2 separate regions of the Homo sapiens genome follow, and region 1 is linked to region 2. Evidence: promoter capture Hi-C in 16 types of primary human blood cells and fetal thymus (Javierre and others, 2016). All regions are on one chromosome and are shown on one strand. Each heading gives the region's core, a stretch centred on a gene start or on the middle of the fragment in contact. The rest is flanking DNA. Distances are from core to core; before and after follow the strand shown.

Evidence for each region. The method cuts DNA at HindIII sites, captures the fragments that hold promoters and counts their contacts. A CHiCAGO score of 5 or more calls a contact.
Region 1: a fragment that was not itself captured here is called in contact with the fragment with the promoter of SPTAN1 in region 2 in 1 of 17 cell types (M2 macrophages); the score reaches 5.6 in M2 macrophages.

What each region holds. Positions count from the first base shown.
Region 1 is chr9:128,685,586-128,688,285 of GRCh38, reverse strand. It overlaps a transcript of SET not described here. Among named protein-coding and RNA genes, the nearest start is that of SET, 2.3 kb to the left of the region's middle. RefSeq lists enhancers at 1-767, 2,118-2,217, 2,258-2,347. The HindIII fragment of the contact is 3,602 bases long and covers 1-2,700 here.
Region 2 is chr9:128,551,303-128,554,002 of GRCh38, reverse strand. SPTAN1 (spectrin alpha, non-erythrocytic 1) reads right to left here and starts at 1,416. Exons shown (of 57, transcript NM_001130438.3): 1 at 1,307-1,416. It overlaps LOC101929270 (a long non-coding RNA gene), which reads left to right and starts at 1,590. Exons shown (of 4, transcript NR_188457.1): 1 at 1,590-1,635. RefSeq lists a silencer at 1,003-1,772. The HindIII fragment of the contact is 3,549 bases long and covers 1-2,238 here.

The DNA.
Region 1 (2,700 bases), core at 188-2,687, 130 kb before region 2:
CCCTCCAGCACCCCAAGACATGAACCATAAAAAGCCAGAAAAACCCTGATTAGTAGCATTTGTTTGTTTGTTTTGAGACGGGAGTCTTGCTCTGTCCCCCAGGCTGGAGTGCAGTGGCGCAATCTTGGCTCACTGCAAGCTCTGCCTCTCGGGTTCAAGCAATTCTCCTGCCTCGGCCTCCCGAGTAGCTGGGGCTACAGGCACGTGCCACCATGCCCGGCTAATTTTTGTATTTTTAGTAGAGATGGAGTTTCACCACCTTGGCCAGGCTGGTCTACTGACCTGGGGTGATCCACTCACCTCGTCCTCCCAAAGTGCTGGGATTACAGGCGGGAGCCACTGCGCCCGGCCAGTACCATTTGTTGATTTTAGTGATACGCTGGCCAATTTCAAATCCTGGCCATGCAATAGCTCACTCCTGTTATCCCAACACTTTGGGAGGCCAAGGCAGGAGGATCGCTTGGGCCCAGGAATTCCAGGCTTCAATGAGCCCCAATGCAGCCACTGCACTGAAGCCTGAGTGACAGAGCAAGACCCTATCTCTAAAACAAAAACAAAAAAATACCTGAAATCTCTCTTTGGACATTTTTAACCAGAACTTGGGGTTGGAATTCTGCCTTCCAGAACTCACACTTTACCATTGGCTCTTTTTTTTTTTTTTTTTTTTTGGTGGGGGAGGGGACCAAGTCTCATTCTGTCTTCCAGGCTGGAGTGCAGTGGTGCCATCTCAGCTCACTGCAACCTCCGCCTCCCGGGTTCAAGTGATTCTCCTGCCTCAGCATCCTGAGTTGCTAGGATTACAGATGTGAGTCACCACGCCCTGCTAATTTTTGTATTTTTTGGTAGAGACAGGTTTTCACCATGTTGGCCAGACTGGTCTCAAACTCCTGACCTCAGGTGATCCACCTGCCTCTGCCTCCCAAAGTGCTGAGATTACAGGCATGAGCCACTGAGCTCGGCCCACTATCAGCTCTTAAAGCTCAAGCAGCATCTTTCATGTTCAAGACAGTGCACGGTGAGTGTCTTAGCCTCCCGAGTATCTGGGATTACAGGCGCCCACTACCATGCCAAGCTAATTTTTGTATTTTTTAGTAGAGACGGGGTTTCACCATGTTGGCCAGGCTGGTCTCGAACTCCCGACCTCAGGTGATCTGCCCACCTCGGCCTCCCAAAGTGCTGGGACTACAGGCATGAGCCACCCACTGTGCCTAGCATAAACTAAACTTTGTTGCAAGTGACAGAACCAAGATTCTAAACCAAGTAGCAATTGACAAAGCCCTTACCTTAAAACAGTTTTTCTATTTTTATTGTTGTTATTATTATGAGACAGGGTCTCTCTCTGTCGCCCAGAACCATGGCTCACTGCAGCCTTGACCTCCTGGGCTCTGGGGATTCTTACACCTCAGCCTTCTGAGTAGCTGGGACCACAGGCAAGCACCACTGCCACCTTGCCTGGCTAATTTTGTTTTTATCTTTTGTAGAGAGGAGGTATCACCATGTTGCCCAGGCTGGTCTCAAACTCCTGAGCTCAAACCATCCTTCAGCCTCAGCCTTCCAGAGCTCTGGGATTACAAGAGTTAGCCATCGCACCCTGCCTCAGTTTTTTTAATGTGACCAACAGTCAGAAGTACTTTTGACATCATGACCTAGCACACACAAACCAAAACTTACCCTTACCAAGGGTGATGTGATTCTAATTTCCTATTTAAAATGCAGGTCACACCCCACCAAATTGATTTCACGACCCGCTCCTGGGCTGAGTCTGTCTGAGAACACTATGCCAAGGGCTGGCTGCTTCCATCCTCAAAGCCTGACCCATAGGGTCACTCCTGACCCACAATGTCTCCTAAGTGCCTTATCTGCCTGTTTCCCAAGCACCTGCAGGGGTCCCAGGGAACCCTGTAATGCCTTCTGATGGGGGAGTGGGCTTTCAGGTTCCCTTTCTGGCCTCCCAACCCTCCCTGCCACCTCCCTGCCCCTCTTTTCCTGCCCTTCCCCACACAGTGCTTCTCAAGATAAATATGAGCACACTAGGAAGTTGAAGAGAAAGAGAAAGCAAAAGGGCCAGGGGTGTGAGTAAACACAGGCGAGCCGGGGGCACACTGAGAGGTTATTCACCCACTCTTAGGACTCTGCTCTCTCCCCGTCTCCAACACCAGAAGCTCTGCATTCTCTCTTCTTGGCCTCTCCCCTCACTCAGAATTCCTCCCTTGCCTCTCTCCTCTCCTCCTGGCCCCTCTGGTTGTTTTTTTTTTTGTTGTTGTTGTTGTTGTTCTTGTCGCCCAGGCTGGAGTGCAATGGCACGAACTCGGCTCATTGCAACCTCCGCCTCCGGAGTTCAAGCAATTCTCCTGCCTTAGCCCCCCAAGTAGCTGGGATTACAGGCATGCATCGTCACGCCTGGCTAACTGTCTTTGGTAGAGATGGGGTTTAGCCATGTTGGCCAGGCTGGTCTTGAACTTCTGACCTCAGGTGATCTGCCCACCTCGGCCTCCCAAAGTGCTGGGATTACAGGCGTCAGCCACCGCGCCCGGCCCCCGGCTCCCTTTGAAGAGGACAGAACCCCACCGCCAGAAAGACTGGAACAGAGAGAGGCTGGCATTCCCCCACAGTGCTGCAGTGTCCCAAGCACAGACCAAAAAATCTCCAGAGCCTGGAACATCTCCCCCGCCACAGACACATACACATCTCTTTGAGCCT
Region 2 (2,700 bases), core at 167-2,666:
CGGAACCTTGACTCAATGGCTTCATATAGCTGAGTGTTCCTCCTGCTATTTCCAAGATTTTCTGTTTCCTGGCTCCAAGACACCCCCACCCTTCCATCTTTGATACATTCTGTTTTACTTAAGGCCAATTGCTATGACGACGCAATTTCTCAACACATTATGAAAATACTTCATATGGCCTCTCTCCTGTTCTTCCCGAACAGCCATGATGGTAAGTTTTTCTAAAATAACATGATGAAGACAGAACAAAGGGCTTAAATATTTTAGGATCTATTATATAAAAGAGATCTGATTAGATGTTGGAACAGTTCAAGCATCATCTCAACCCAGCTTTCTGAGCTATTTAGGCTTTTCATTTAAAACATATTCAACTTTTAACAAGGCGCTTATTTAAAATATATTTTACTCTAGTACATCAGAGACTTTTGAAAGCGATGTTCTAGGGGAAGCGTCTAATCAAATTCTCAGGGACAGCTTTCAAACAAAAGACTGTTCTATCATTCAACAGTGGTATGGTAGAATTTTTGACACTGTATCTCGACTCGAAAGACCCAGTCCCAGGAAACACACACACAAACAAGAACGCTAAGCTATTAAGTTATTTGATTTGAGCCACATACCATGCAAGCACTGCATTTACCTATTATTTACAAGCAAATCACAACTAGGAAGAAAGAAAAATGTTTATTACAAGGAAAGAAAAGGAGACGGCCAGTCTCAGACCCTTCTGCGTTCAGAGAGACGGCAGAGATTCGCCATGCAGGATGAAATTAAGGTCAGAGAGCCGTTTACGCTATGCTCGGGCTCCCCGGGCTCTTCCTCCCTCTACGGCTGGCCGGCATTGCTGGTGCGATTCGGAAGAACGAGCTGCAGAAGTCGCTCCCGGCCGAGGGAAGGGACCGGGGGCGGTGCGGGGAGCGTTCTGCAGGGAGGCGGCTGGCGAAGATCCCGACGAGGGAGCCCCCACCCACCTGCCGCAGCCGGATGGGGCAGGGCAGGGCCGCGCCGCAGCCAGGCTTGGGGGTGGTTGGGAGGGACCCGGCGGCCTCGCGCCCCCTCCCCCCGTCAGTGACATTCCAGCGGCGGCGCCGAGCCTCGGCCCGGCTGCTCCTCCGCAGCCCACGCGCCACAAAAGCAGCGGCAGCGGCTTCCCCCACTCAGCCGAATGGAGGCAGCCCCGCGGCCCGCCCGGCTCACCTGTCCGCGCGCCGGCCCCGCCCCGCCTGAAGAGCTGCCCAGCTCCCACCCGGGGGTCGGCTGCCCGGGGCCCCGCTCCCTCCCGGAGCTCCCCGGCTGCCCCTCTCACCGGCTCTCGGGGGGTGAGGGGCGTGGGTGCGTCGGGCCGAGGGGTGCTGAAGGACCGAGGAGCCTCCGCGGCCTCCGCTCCACACCGTTCACTCCGCAGCGGGTAGTGGCGGCGACGCGCGCGCCCCGCCTCTTTTATAAGCGGCTACGCGCGCTCCCGCGGCGGGCGGGCGCGAGCGCCGGGGGAAGCGCCCCGGCGCTGCGCGAGGGGTGGGGGAGCGCGCCGGCGGAGCAAAGGGGGCGGTGCTCCCGCCGGCTCGCCGCCCGACCGCCCGGCGGAAAGGGCCGAGCGATCCCGGAAGGAGCCGAAGCGACAATGCGGGGGAAGAGGTGAGCGAGGGGCGGGCCGCGGGAGGATGGGGAAATGGGGCGCGCGCAAGGGGTGAGGGGTGATGGTGCAGTGAGGTCACTGCCTACGCCCTGGCGGTAGAGACGCTCCCGCCTCACCTCCCTCCCCGCAGCTTGCGCCCCGCCACCGCCCGCCCTGCGGACAGTCGTCTGCATCGCACCACTCCGCCCTGGGAGCTCTTCCAGGACTGCGGAGAAGGGCGGGGCGGGGGTATCGCTGCAGTCTGGCTGGGGATGCTGCGCGCCCCGGCCGGAAAAACGCCCAGTCCCAAAGGGTGAGATCACCCGAGTGCGTCTCTTCCTGCTCACTTTCCCGAGGAGGAGGCTGGCGCTGGGGTCCCAAGTCAGCCTAATTCGGTGGGGGCTGGGGTCAAGAAGACGCGGATGATTTGGGGCCCCGGGTTTGAGGAGGTGGTGAGAGGAAAAGGCCAAATCCGAATCAGAAAAAAAATTAAGTCGACTAATTTGGGGCATAAAGCTGTCATTCTGGGATTTGGAGAGTTAATTTCTTATGTTCTTGGAGATTATGGGGGAGGAAACGGCAGCGGCAAAATAATAATTTCTTACATTCCTGCAACAAAAGCTTTCTCACAGGTCGCCAGTGGAATAGGCTACATTCATCCTATTTCATAAACAAGACATTAAGGTTCTTTCTGGCACAATTAATCGAACTTGCCTTGTGTACTAGGCACTATGCTAAGTATTTCGTGTTACCTTTTCATTTCTTAATCTTTGCAATAATTTTATGAGATGTTTTCCCATTTTACAAATGGGCACTCTTACATAATGCTCATGTAGGCTAAGTCTCTTGGCCCAGGTCAGGCAGCTACCAATTGGAAGAGCTAGGATTTACATCTCAGCAGTCAGAACCTTCCCTTTGCAACCGTATGTGTATTGCCTTCAAATAGGAAAGGGAGGCATTTTGATGCGGGTGGCTGCTGGGGTGCAGAAAGAGAAAAATAAGATTCTCAGAATTTCTGATACTTAAAGTCCTAGCAGTTTAAGGTCCTGGCTCTAAACTCTGTAGCCAGAAGCCCTGGATTAGGA